Regions from separate parts of the Homo sapiens genome. Here regions 1, 2 and 4 are each linked to region 3. The links are contacts of gene promoters, found by promoter capture Hi-C in blood cells and fetal thymus (Javierre and others, 2016). All regions are on one chromosome and are shown on one strand. Each heading gives the region's core, a stretch centred on a gene start or on the middle of the fragment in contact. The rest is flanking DNA. Distances are from core to core; before and after follow the strand shown. Region 1 holds the start of CPT2 (carnitine palmitoyltransferase 2). Region 2 holds the start of MAGOH (mago homolog, exon junction complex subunit). Region 3 holds the start of ORC1 (origin recognition complex subunit 1). Region 4 holds the start of CZIB (CXXC motif containing zinc binding protein).

Region 1 (3,180 bases), core at 276-2,775, 790 kb after region 3:
TATCAAGGCTCTGAAAATGATCAGGATTTAGAGGAGATGGCTCATTTTCAGAAAGAGTTTTATATTCTCCCTCTGGCCTTATACACTACAGGCAAATGGCACCGATGTTTTGGAGTTGGGCCAGTTGGGCCTTTTCTCCCCTCAAGAGAGGAGGATTCGATATTCAGTGTTTCTGAATTTCATGCTTAGTTCTTAAGCCATTTCCCATTTGCCCTAAGAAATAAGAGCTGGCAGCAAGCTGCGCTGTTTTTTTCTAAACGGGAAATGGGTTAAGCATTTGTGATCACCACTGAATGAGTGCCAGAGCTGGTTAGTGATCTTCCTGTTCAATCCGAGGTCACCTAACTAGATAACAAAGAGCTGAAACTAAAAGTCCGGTCTCCTGACTCCCAATCCAGTACTCTTTCTGGTGTGCTCCAGCTTCTGGCTCTGCTTAGCCAATTATGGAACAGACAGAATGTACTTGGCTGCCCCAAACGGCTAAAGGGCAGTTCTGTTCCCAAAATGGAATTCTGTTGTGCCTCAAGCTAGGCAGCATAATTGTGTGTCTTTTGGTAACTCCCTGTCTTCTTCTGTAAAATGGGAGTAGAGCCTACTTAATCCTGCAGCTACTTCTAAGATCAGGGATTGGGGCGTGGTGGGCTGTTCTGCAGCTGTTTTGTGATGGATGAGGGATGATAGATCTATGTTCAAGTAGCGGAATCTTAGAGTCAGGAGTTGGAAGGAATCTTGGAGGTGGTCTGTGGTGACAGGAAGCCTCTTCCAATAGACTGAACACGGAAGACTTCCTAGAGCCGGAGGACAAGGGTTTCTTTCCTCTTAGCAGTGAGCTTCTTGTTTTTGGAAATGCTCAAGCCAAGAATGGATGTTCAGGCAGAGGGGATTCCGCTCGGAAGGGGCTTTCTGCACTGAAGTGGTGGCCAGCGGGAAACTCCAGGTTTCCAACTCCTGCACAAATCCTTTCTAATATCCATCCACTCAGGTGAGCTGGCAGGGCAGTAGCTGTGCAGGGTTCAGGGTCATTATATGTCAATGACCTTCAGCACGGATTACTAACAACAGTAACATCCGTTACCGTTTACTGCTTTCCTATTAAGCACCATGCACTGTGCATAACATGTTATCTTTATCTCATATCTAGAATTTTGGGAGGTACTTTGAATCATTACGATCTATCTACTTCTTAGGTGAGGAAATAGAGGTTTAAAATTTAGTCCACAGTCTCGCAAGGATGGAGCCTGGATCAAATTTTGGGTTATCAGATTCCAATCACGTTTCTTAGCTTTTCTTTTTTTTTTCCAACTCCAGTTTCTGTCTTGCTCCAAAAAAGGGGAAGGAGCGGCTGCGGCGCTCGGTTTCCCGCCTCCTAGGGAAGGGAAGGGAGACGAGCAGCGCGGAGGCTGGGGCCCCCTTCCGGGCGGGGCCTACTAGTGGGCGGGGCCTGTCAGTGAGCGGCCCCTGCCCGGAAGGAGCCAGTCCGGGGCGGAGCCGATGGCCTTACAGGGGCCGGAAGTGGCCTGCGGGCGGAGAAGTGCCTCAGGAGTCCTGACGCAGTGTCTTGGGCGCTAACGGCGGCGGCGGCCTTGTGTTTAGACTCCAGAACTCCCCACTTGCCGCGTTCTCGCCGCCGCAGGCTCCCGGGACGATGGTGCCCCGCCTGCTGCTGCGCGCCTGGCCCCGGGGCCCCGCGGTTGGTCCGGGAGCCCCCAGTCGGCCCCTCAGCGCCGGCTCCGGGCCCGGCCAGTACCTGCAGCGCAGCATCGTGCCCACCATGCACTACCAGGACAGCCTGCCCAGGTGAGCCTGGCCTCCGGGTCCCCGCCGCCCGCCGCCGTCCCAGGATCGGCCCCAACCTGACTGCAGTCACTCATGACTCCTCTAGTGAACCCGTTTCCGCCCCCAAGCCCCTACCATGGAGGCTGCCACAGCCCCTAATCTGGAAGTCTTGGGACTTTTCACAATCTCCTAGCACAGGAACCTCAGAACCCTCAAATTCTCTTCCAGAACCCCTCGATGCTATCTCAGATTCTCCATCTTGAACGCTTCTCAGATTCCCTCTCCTTTAACCTAACTTCCAGCCAGCTATCCTGAGTCCTCTTCTCCCTGAAAAATGCCAGACCTGCATATTTCCAGCGCCGCTGTAATCCCTCGACTATGGTGTCTCCTGAAGTACTTTAATGACTGCCTCACATTCCTACCCGGAATATGGGTAGGCTGATTCCTAATACATCATGGTTACCATTCCTTAACTTCTCCCAGCACCGCCTTCACCCCTGTCACTCAGGACCCTCAGCCCCACCTCCCATTTCTCCAGTACTCTGTTCTTTCACCCCCCATGAGCCCCCACAAGCACAGCCCTGAAGTGTTCACCCTTGTCCTCAACTGACCCTCCCCCATGTTTTTAAATCTTTAATCTCCTAAATCCAGTGTTCACCCGGAAACCTTTCACTCTCTCCAAGCCCTCCTCAACAGGTTCCTCCCCTCAAAATATCCTTCCTCACCCACAGTACCCCTTGTAAGTGCAGCTCACCCTCACAGAATTCTAGACACCACCCTCAGTACCCCATCCACACTCCATCATACTCAGATCCAGGGTCCACCCAAATTTCTCTTCTCCTCCTCACCACTGGCTACCCTGCCTTCGAAACACTTCACCCAGAATCGACTTCCCCTCTGAAAAGAGCCCTAGTAAATCCTCTTCCCCTTCCCTCCCCCAGTACTTTCTTAAATCCAGCTTCCAGTTCTTCCAGCCTTCGAACTCCGCTTTCGTCTGAGTTGCCAGATCTCCTTCTTCAATATTAGAAATTTTCTTCACCCTCTAAACCAAACCTAAACTAACTTCTAACTTACTGAGTGAGTAACTCAGTTCCTGGAGCCAAGTTCAAAATTTGTCTCAAAGACCCTTCTCACCTTATTTCTCACCAAACTGCCCTCAGGGATTCCCCACACTCCAAGAGCTAGAGGCCAGGCTTCTTCCCCATGTGTGGAACATTGTGTCACAGGCCTCACCCGAGCTGCTGGGTTGTTTTTCTCTGCATCTGGGACCACTTAACCCAACGTCATCACTACATACCCTCACCCTCTCAGGAGGATCGAGTGATTCTTGTGAAATTACATTTTGTGCAAACATCTAAGACATGAAAATGAGATTATCTACACGTGGCAGGAGGGAGGAAGAAA
Region 2 (3,206 bases), core at 387-2,886, 830 kb after region 3:
TTCTGCCTCCAACAGTTTCCTAAATCTTTCTCTCCATTTCTACTATCTCTGTAGTCCCAACCAGTATCTTTTTTTTTTTTTTTTTTTGAGACAGAGTCTTGCTCTGTCACCCAGGCTGGGGTACAGTGGCACTATCTCAGCTTGCTGCAACCTCCGCCCCAGGTTCAAGAGATTCTCCTGTCTCAGCCTCCCGAGCAGCTGGGATTACAGGCGTCTGCCACCACACCCGGCTAATTTTTGTATTTTTAGTAGAGGCGGGGTTTCACCATGTTGGCCAGGCTGGTCTTGAACTCCTGACCTCAAGTGATCCGCATACCTCGGCCTCCCAAAGGGCTGAGATTACAGGCTTGAGCCACCGCGCCCGGCCCCCAACATCTTTCGTGTCTTGACAACTGCAACAGTCTCCTAATCAATAGCCCTGTTTCCACTCTTGCCCATTCCGCACCCAATAACCAGAATGCTTTTTCAAGAAGAGATCACATTTCTTCTCTGCTTAAAACCTTCCAAGCCCGGCCGGGCGCGGTGGCTCACACCTGTAATCCCAGCACTTTGGGACGCCGAGGCGGGCGTATCACCTGAGGTCAGGAGTTCGAGACCAGCCTGGCCAACATGGTGAAACTCCGTCTCTACTAAAAATACAAAATTAGCCGGGCGTGGTGGTGGGCGCCTATAATTCCAGCTACTCGGGAGGCTGAGGCAGGAGAATCACTTGAACCCGGGAGGCGGAGGTTGCAATAAGCCGAGATCGCGCCATTGCACTCCAGCCTGGGCAAAAAGAGCGAAAGCCGTCTCAAAAAAAAAAAAAAAAAAAAGGCCTTCCAAGTCCAAACTTTTTACCGTGGTCTATAAAGACCTAAGAGGTGCCGCTCCTACCTACCTATCCGACATCATCTCCTGCTATCTCCCAGCTCACCACTCTTCAACCACACTGACCACCTGAGACACGCCTAGCTCATTCCCGCCCTGCAGCCTTGACATCTGGTATTCCCTTTGTGTAGAATGGTCTTCCTTATGAGCTTCACAAGGCTGAGCCCTTCTTGTTAATTAGGACTCGGCTGCAATATACCCTTTACAGAGAGCTCTCTAATGGCCAACCTATCTAAAAGCAGCCCATCCAGCAATTATTCTACCATGTTATTTTTTGACCACTCACTGCTATCTGGAATCATCTTTTTGTTTATGATCTCTCTCCCGGCAGTAAAACACAAGTTCCACGAGAGGGGAAGTTTGTCTACCTTCGCTGCCGTATTCCCAAAGAGTGGAACAGAGCCTGGCACACAGTGGGCGTTCAGTCAACGTTTGCTGAATGGATAGAAAGACCCCGTGGAGCAGACACAGTGGCGTTCCTTTAAGATCTGCACTGCACAGGTCTCAGTCCCTCCCTCCTCTAGTTCCCCACAGATTTCCGACCCTCGGCCTCCCCACTCGCCGGCCCCCAGGCCTGGTCCCCGCTCCCGGCGGGCGGCAGGCTGCTTTTACCGTCCGGTCGAAACTCAAACTCCAGGAACTCGTGGCCGAACTTGCCCTTGTGCCCCACGTAGTAACGCAGATAAAAGTCACTCTCCATGGCTCCCAAAAGACAACCGAGCCTGAACTTCCAAGAGCAAGCCGCACTGCCGCCGTCTGCGCCCGACACTGACGTTTGCGGCGGCGCGCGGAAGTGACGTCAGGTCCCGTCGTCGCTGCGTGGAGGGGTTCCTTCTCGCTAACCTCTTCGCCCGGAAGTGGCAACAAGACTGCAACATCCCCTCACGCCTAGTCTGTAAAGAACTTTGTTTAACCCGGAGGCGGGGCCAGCCAGCTCCGCCCCTCCAGCTGGACGCGGGAGCGAGGTTGAGGTTCATACCCCTGGGTTCTCTCCAGGCCTGAGGCGGAGAGCCAGCCGCCTGCCTACCTCTGGGCTTTGAACCCCGGGTCTGGTGACTTCGCTTAAAGACCTCGGGCCGAAGGCCCGCCAGGCTCAACCTCGGTTCACAGGACCCCCGACTTGTGTGAGTCGTACACCGCTCTTTACCGTCTCTGGACCTAGGTCATCTCGGCAGTAAAATGGGGTGAAATGACCCGACCTCCCCGGAGGATGCCGCGCACGATGTGTGCCTCAAGTTGGCTTCCACTGACCTGAACTGTTAAGAAAGCCCTCCTCAGTGACGCCTTCCCTGAATCCACAGTGGAGATTGCCGTTTTCCTGGAACTAATTCACCCACACTTACCCATTTCATCCCTTTCCACCTTTTATTTCTACCTTTCTGCCCCACTGATCTCTAGAATAGGTGCTGGGAGACGTTAGAGTATTTGATCTCCCACTCCCCAGTCATCCCACTTACCGAGCAGTAATTCTCTGCCTGGCTGCACATTGCAATCACTTGGGAAGCCTCTAAAAATACTGATGCCAGGGCTCTACCCCAAGCCAGTTAAAATCTCCAGCGCTGGACCTGGGCATTGGTACTTTTTGTAAAGCTTTCAGGTGAGTCAGAGTTGAGGACCACTGACCAAAGAGGTCCTTTCTTTTCAGGGTAAAGTTGTCCTCTGTGAAGCCTTTCTGGCTCTGGAAAAAATTTACAGTTGAGTAGGCCCAGGGCAATCAAGATCATAATTATGTAATAGGAACCTGCTTTCACTCATCTAAGTTCCAGGCTTAGAAAGAATGAATGGTTCTAGAGACAGTGCCGAGATGACATCATTCTTGGGTCCTGGCGGCTAGAACTGTATACGATTCTGTAAGTTGGGACAGCAGTCTCTGATTCCTATTCCCAGTCTTTTCTTTTTGAGACGGAGTTTCGCTCTTGTTGCCCAGGCTGGAGTGCAATGGAGTGATCTCAGTTCACCGCAACCTCGCCTACCTAATTTTTAAACTTTTTGTAGAGGCAAAGTCTCCCTATGTTGCCCACGCTGGTCTCAAACTCCTGGGTTCAAGTGATTCTCCTGCCTTAGCCTCCCAAGTAGCTGGGATTACAGGCATGCGCCACCATGTCCAGCTAATTTTTGTAATTTTCTGTTTTTAGTAGAGACGGGGTTTCACCATGTTGGCCAGGCTGGTCTCGAACTCCCGACCTCAGGCGATCCGTCTGCCTCGGCCTCCCAAAGTGCTGGGATTACAGGCATGAGCCACCGCGCCCGGCCCTCAGTCTTAACACGGAGTCCTTTTCTCCCTGCAAAAGCATTAGCAGCAGAGTGTAGAGTAGGTGTGGTGGGGGAAAAATCACTGG
Region 3 (3,108 bases), core at 284-2,783:
CTGTCTCAAAATAAAAAAAAGAAAAGTAGATGTTATTATCACTTCAAGGTGATAACTTATCCTATCTTATACAGGATGGCACAGCCTTAACTCAAACCCGGAAAAGCCAGACTGCAATTACTGTGCTCTTAACTACTTCACCTTACAACACACTGTGTGAAACTGGATAATGTTAATATGTAACTGAGAGCTTGCTTTTGGTGTACTTATTACAATAAATCAGGCTTCCCAGCCACTGACTGAACATTGTGGATTGGGCCTCAATTTGCTTACCCACAAAATGGAGAAAATAGAATCTTCCGTTTATTCAACCAATATTTATTAAGTACCCATCGTGTGCCAGGCACTATTTTAGGATAATGGAAGATTAAGTGAAAAAATGCAAAATGGTAAATCCACTTTCCCACTACCTTAATCCCTTGCATTTATTTGTAAGGTACAGTGGTTTTATTTATTAAGTATCATTTGATGAATACTATGGAACTAACATAATTCAAGCAAAATTTTGCATTCAATTTCGGCAGATTCACAAACCTCCTAAAGTCCACATATTGCCCTCCATTAAAGTTAAAAACTGTTGCAAAGGGACTTAAACCATTCTGTCATATTGGAAACTCCTTTGGCATTTCCAGCCCACCTAACACAGCAGAGACGAGGGTACTATTATTCATGTGTTACAGACAACTAGAATCGTATATAATCATTGCAGTTTCACAAATAGATCAGGATAAGAATGCCTTTTCCAACTGTCACAGCAGAAGACTCTTCAATTCCGGGGTTAGAAAAGAGAAGTAGGAAGGGGGCCACCAGACTTCTCTTCTGAAAAGAAGGTGAATGACAGACAGCCCAGCAGTTAGGAGCTCATCTGAAAAAAAGATCTGGGTAGGAGCCCAGACTGCTTAGTCACGAAAAGCGACCTAAGACACGTCCCTCCCTGGGCGCAATTTACGTCCGTAAAATGGGGTAATAACCTCTGCTCCGCCTTCCCTGTAGTGGTTCCTACACTATAGCTCAAAGAACGAAACAAGTAGAGTGCTTTACAAATGCAGATGGAGGGAAAGTCATCACTGAGCATCAGGGTGCGGAGGGCAGGAATGCTCCTGCTTCTAGGCTGTTGGCTTCCGCCTTCCCCCCTGCAAACTCAGTTCCCTGCAGCGCGGGAAGCCTTTTAGGAATCGGAGTGTGGAACAGAGGAACGCTCTTAACAGTTCAGAACAGTGCCTGGCACTGAACAGGCGCTTGGTACATGTCAGCTAAAAGAATCAATGACTGAGTCTACAGAGAACGTCCTCAGTTTCAGAGGTTCCGATGCGCCCTCCCCCGAGTCCCTCGCAGCCCGCTGGACGCCACACTCACCCGGCTCCAAAGCTTCCTCCGGCTAGCCGCAAGCCCTCCGTTTCCTACCGCCTCCACTTCGAGAGCTCCGGGGGATGCGGCACCTCTAACCTGCACCAGCAGGGCTCCTTCTACAACTACGGGCCGAAAGCCAGGACCAAAGCGTGTGTCTCACTAGAAATGAAAAGAAGGTGGAAGGAGAAAAGAAAACTTCGCGCCAATCGGCGTGGCCCCGCCCCCAGACCGTCCCTTCGTTGCGACACCAACTAGCTCGCCCCGCCCACTCCGTACACCTAAGAGGGGCGCATGACGTACATCCGCTAACATGCAGCCGCCATCATTGATTCGATAGGCGACGCGGGGAGCGGAAGCCCTTTACACTACGGTGTTTCCGGCTTCAAGATGGTCGCCTAAGCTGTTTAGTGAAACTTCTTCCACCTTTCTCCATTCCTCTAGGTGCTTTTTCTGAACCTGGATGTGAGGCATTAAAGGATCCGACGGAAATAGAATTGAAGGCATTCTAAAATGGCTAACCGTACAGTGAAGGATGCGCACAGCATCCATGGCACCAACCCTCAATATCTGGTGGAGAAGATCATTCGAACGCGAATCTATGAGTCCAAGTACTGGAAAGAGGAGTGCTTTGGACTTACAGGTAAGTGGAAGCGCGCGGAGCGCCTCTCAGCCCCCTTGTGGCCCATTTCTCCTGACCGAGCGCGGGTAGGACTAGCGACTGGCCTCTGGGGGTGGTACTGGAACGGAGTATGTCGATCATTCAGAAAAATTTTGAGTGCCTGCTAAGTGCCTCGTCTTGTGTTGAGTATTAGAGGCACAGATGAATCTGGTAAGGTCATATTCTGAAGGCTGTCTCAGTTGGGTGTTGTGAGTTATTCCGTATTTAATGATAGCAGGCTGGGTTGCAACAGTGTTAAGCTCAGGGATCCGGATATAACACTTTGACACAATCTGTTGAAGGTCTTTAAGGACCTAACGTTAATATGCCTGAAACCAAATTCATGATCTTACTATTCTTAGATCTGGGCCGGTTCCAGTATTTATAAATATCAGTGCTTCAGAGAAGTCTTCCAGGTAATCTTCCGATTTGAATTGTGGCTTTAAATCCATGTCCTGTGACAATCTGTGGACCTTGAGCAAGTCACTTTACCTTTCTTAGCCCTCATTTTCCTTACCTGGAAATAAGAACATTGCTAGAACTTTCTTCATGACTTGTTAAAAAAGGTTAAGTGAGATAATATGAAAAGCTTAGCAGGGTACCTATTTTATTATCCATTCTCAATGTATATTAGCTGTTGTCGTTACTGTTATTAATACACATTCGTTCTCCTAATATTACACTGTTGATGTATATTTAGGAGAACCAAAGCTTGAACTAACTCCACTCCAACTAGGAAGAGCTTAGCCCTAATATGTTACTGTATTGTTTTTGTTTTTTAGCTGAACTTGTAGTCGATAAAGCCATGGAGTTAAGGTTTGTGGGTGGCGTCTATGGTGGCAACATAAAACCAACACCCTTTCTGTGTTTAACCTTGAAGATGCTTCAAATTCAACCCGAGAAGGATATCATTGTAGAGTTTATCAAAAATGAAGATTTCAAGTGAGTGCAATGTTCACTAGCTAATATAAGAGGTTTAATTTTGGCGGTTTAGAATTGGGCTTTGGTTAAGAGGGGTGTACACAATGTATCTCATTTCTAGAGAGTTCCACTCCAGATTTTTGCTTTTGAGCCCTTGAGTTTGTATTTTTTGTTTGTTT
Region 4 (3,258 bases), core at 267-2,766, 810 kb after region 3:
CCTGACCTATGGGCTTAGGGACCACAAGTGCCATGCCCTACATTCAGTCTCATCCTGTCATTCACTGTAAAGTAATTTCCTGCACACTGACCACATCTCTGGCACTGGTAAGGCACTTCTCTGTTAGGGCCCTAGTTCGATTCTTGTTTTTTGTATTTTCCACTAGATTATTATGTACGTGAAGGCGAGTCCTCATTTAATTTCTCTTTAACTTCAGGACAAAGCCAAGAATTTGGCACAACTCAAGATACTTTAAATAAATACCAAATAAGGAATAGGTGAATACATATAACTGGCTTTCTTTAAACAAACAGATCCAAAGCACACCCTCCCTCACCTTTGGGCTAACTTGTTAACACTGATGATATAAAGGATGGGATGCACCAAACGACTACCCCACCCATGGTTTCAGAGAAAGCTTGCTAGTCCCCTAAAATGAAGACAAGGCAAGTGCTCTCAGTGATGCAAACTGAACAGCTAGGTTGTGTCAGAGGTCCCCTGAGCTCTCACAGCCCAGCCCTCATAAGAAGGCACTGCAAGAGGCAATATACCAAGCACTCAGTGTACAGTGGATAAATGACTGAGTCAAAGAAGAACTAAGTTCATGAGTGAATGTCCTATGGCAGGTCACTCTGATGCAGGCATGACTCTAGAACCCAGACCTACTAACTCCAGTTAGGATTTAAGCCCACCATCCCTGCCACTACAGCAGCAAACTTACATTGTAAGGCTTGATGGTGCTGCTTAAAATCTCTGAAATAGAAAAGAGAACACAAAGTTGACTTGAGTCCATACCCTCGCCCCAGCCAGGTGCCCACATGTGGCCCTGAAAAAGATCACGCTGTACAGGTGTCGGCATCTTAGGCCTGACTCCACCCTCAGGTAACATGAGTCTACTTTCAGCCTGGTGCCAGGAAGCTGTGGGCCACCCTGGCAGAACTCAGTACGCACAGCCTGACCTACCGATGGAATTTTCTCTTGCACACAGCTTGCACTTCTGGACCATGGAAGCACTGCCACGGCCCCCCTTCAGTGCCACACTGTCCTGGCAAAAAGCAAACAGAACTTTCAGTCACATATGAATTAGATGTACAGTCCTGAGGAGATCGAGCCCACCATTTATTGTCCACTTAAAGAGACCAAGACCCAGAAAGGGTAACTTACTAGGACAAGACTCCTGGGAAGGCTTCCTGAGGAAAATAAAAAAAGGGCTTCCCCTTGATTTTGAACTCTGCCTCATACCTCAAAGATGCCTATTGAATCCAGTGCTGATCACACTGACACCTACCCTCCCAAACCACAAAAAGCAGGGAGCAAAGAACTGGAGAGATGAAGGCCAGTTTCCCCAAATCCCTGCCCAGAAGTGTATGTGTGTTTGTGAGTGTTTATGTTGGGGGTTGGGCGGGGAACAGTTACCATCAGCCGGATGTACTGCCACTTGTCCGAAATCTCACCACAGTTGCCACATTTCATCTTTGGGGAAAAAGAATGTTAGTAAAGCAGCTGGCTCTGCTGCACAGACACCAAGGAAAGGGTAAGAACAGTGGGAGGTGGGCAGGCTCATGATCTACCTTCTTGATGGCAATCTCACTTCATCCCTAACACCTGCCCCAACAAGGACAAAACTAGAACTATCTCTGGGCAAAGGATAGGTAAGGCTGTTTCCTATGCCGGCGTGCCCACCCTCCTCTATGAAGTGCTCAGTGTGGCCGGGGATTCAAGGCACCTGTGGTGCAGAAATGGTTTCAGCGGAGGTGAGGGGGGGGAATATGGAGAGATTTGTTAGAAGATACAAAATTACAGCTATATGGGAGGAATAAGTTCTAGTGTTCTATAGCACTGTAGGATGACTATAGCTGACAATAATATATAGTTTCAAATAGCTAGGATATTAAATGCTCCCAACACAAAGAAATGATACACGTTTGAGGTGAATATGCTAACTACCTTGATCTGATCACAATACATTACATTTATCGGAACATCACTATATACCCCATAAATATGTACAATTCTGTGTCAATTAAGAAAAAAAAAGAGAAATGGCCTCAGCAGGCCCCCGACCCACTCTGCTTGGTTAGCTTTATGTTCCCACAGGCCCTGTATGTCACTGGTATAAGCACTTATCACTCTATTGTTACTCTATTTTTCTGTCTCCTTCACTCGATTCCGCTTCTTCAAGCCAAAGAACAGATTCTCCCAAGTAAGCCCTGGTATTCAGGCTTCAAAATCCTGGGAAACAAAAGTAGTCCGGAGGCAGCTTCCCGAAAAACAGGGCTTTTGAGAGGTACAGAAGGATGCTGGGATTTTTGACCAGGAGTAAAACAGAGCAGAAGCTCTGGGATCTGGAAGAGTGAAGAGCCTCGAACTGCTGGGGAAGGGGAGGCCTCTGTAGACCATGCCACTAGGGTACCAGCTTTACCAGTGTGGGAGGGCTAAGGAAGGGTGGATTACGCACAAAATTAAACTATTTCACAATAAAGAAAACCAAATCAATAAACGAAAGGCGAACTATTCACCTTATTAAATAATCACAAGCGTCCCTTCAAGTAGCATTTCGTTTAGTGTCCATTTACAGACCACGAAATATTTAACACAGGGAAGAACTACAAAATGAAGCTTTCCAAGACTGCCAATTAGAGATAAACCAATACACTTTAATAGAAAGCAAACGTAAAATTCTAACTAGGAAAACCCCGAACACTTAATGTGCCTGGTTAAATATTTTCTCATACTGCCGGAGAGAAGGCTCCGGTTCAGCACTGAGATCAGGACGGGCCTCCTCTCCCCGGGCCCCGCCCCGGCCGCACCTTCAGGTACCACCGGAAGTCCTCGCCCACGGGCCGGAGGTTGGTGATGTTCTCCAGCGTGGCTTTGAGTTGCAGCGCGATTTTCTGAGGGGGAGGGCCAGAGCGACTGCGTCAGCCGTGCCTGCGCAGCCCCACGCCTGCCCGACCCTCCCGCATTCCCAGCCGTGGGTGCCACAGGGAGACACTCCTTCTGCCTCCTGCTCCTTCAGCGCGCACCCACTCGCTTCATCTCCTCCTGGCGCGAGCTGTTGCCTCCCAGACCCTCGCCACCTCCCCTCCGTGTCCCCGCGGCGGGCGGCCTCCCCTCACCCCCATGGTAGCCCTCTCCGCCCGGTGCTGGCTGCGGCCCTTGCCGTTGCTTTCCGGCGCGTCGTAAAAGGCGGGTGCCGTCTGCGCACCCTCAGTAGGGCGGGGCCGGGGCCGGGCCGCGGGGCAGGGACTTCTGCGC

Evidence for each region. The method cuts DNA at HindIII sites, captures the fragments that hold promoters and counts their contacts. A CHiCAGO score of 5 or more calls a contact.
Region 1: a contact is called between the fragment with the promoter of CPT2 here and the fragment with the promoter of ORC1 in region 3, in 1 of 17 cell types (fetal thymus). The highest score is 6.1, in fetal thymus.
Region 2: the fragment with the promoter of MAGOH here is called in contact with the fragment with the promoter of ORC1 in region 3 in 1 of 17 cell types (fetal thymus); the score reaches 7.7 in fetal thymus.
Region 4: a contact is called between a fragment that was not itself captured here and the fragment with the promoter of ORC1 in region 3, in 1 of 17 cell types (fetal thymus). The highest score is 7.1, in fetal thymus.

What each region holds. Positions count from the first base shown.
Region 1 is chr1:53,195,299-53,198,478 of GRCh38, forward strand. It overlaps CPT2 (carnitine palmitoyltransferase 2), which reads left to right and starts at 1,526. Exons shown (of 5, transcript NM_000098.3): 1 at 1,526-1,797. The coding sequence starts at 1,646. RefSeq lists a silencer at 1,510-1,869. The HindIII fragment of the contact is 6,053 bases long and covers 1-3,180 here.
Region 2 is chr1:53,236,882-53,240,087 of GRCh38, forward strand. MAGOH (mago homolog, exon junction complex subunit) reads right to left here and starts at 1,637. Exons shown (of 5, transcript NM_002370.4): 1 at 1,480-1,637. The coding sequence starts at 1,567. It overlaps MAGOH-DT (MAGOH divergent transcript), which reads left to right and starts at 1,729. Exons shown (of 3, transcript NR_038953.1): 1 at 1,729-2,464. RefSeq lists enhancers at 1,290-1,931, 1,419-1,478, 1,519-1,648. The HindIII fragment of the contact is 5,872 bases long and covers 1-2,455 here.
Region 3 is chr1:52,402,890-52,405,997 of GRCh38, forward strand. ORC1 (origin recognition complex subunit 1) reads right to left here and starts at 1,534. Exons shown (of 17, transcript NM_004153.4): 1 at 1,357-1,534. PRPF38A (pre-mRNA processing factor 38A) reads left to right here and starts at 1,713. Exons shown (of 10, transcript NM_032864.4): 1 at 1,713-1,990; 2 at 2,791-2,950. The coding sequence starts at 1,861. RefSeq lists an enhancer at 1,033-2,232. The HindIII fragment of the contact is 1,229 bases long and covers 1,367-2,595 here.
Region 4 is chr1:53,217,451-53,220,708 of GRCh38, forward strand. CZIB (CXXC motif containing zinc binding protein) reads right to left here and starts at 3,184. Exons shown (of 8, transcript NM_017887.3): 1 at 3,120-3,184; 2 at 2,811-2,894; 3 at 1,417-1,473; 4 at 964-1,045; 5 at 722-753. The coding sequence starts at 3,125. It overlaps CZIB-DT (CZIB divergent transcript), which reads left to right and starts at 2,910. Exons shown (of 1, transcript NR_185918.1): 1 at 2,910-3,258. RefSeq lists an enhancer at 2,585-3,086 and a silencer at 2,956-3,258. The HindIII fragment of the contact is 2,201 bases long and covers 417-2,617 here.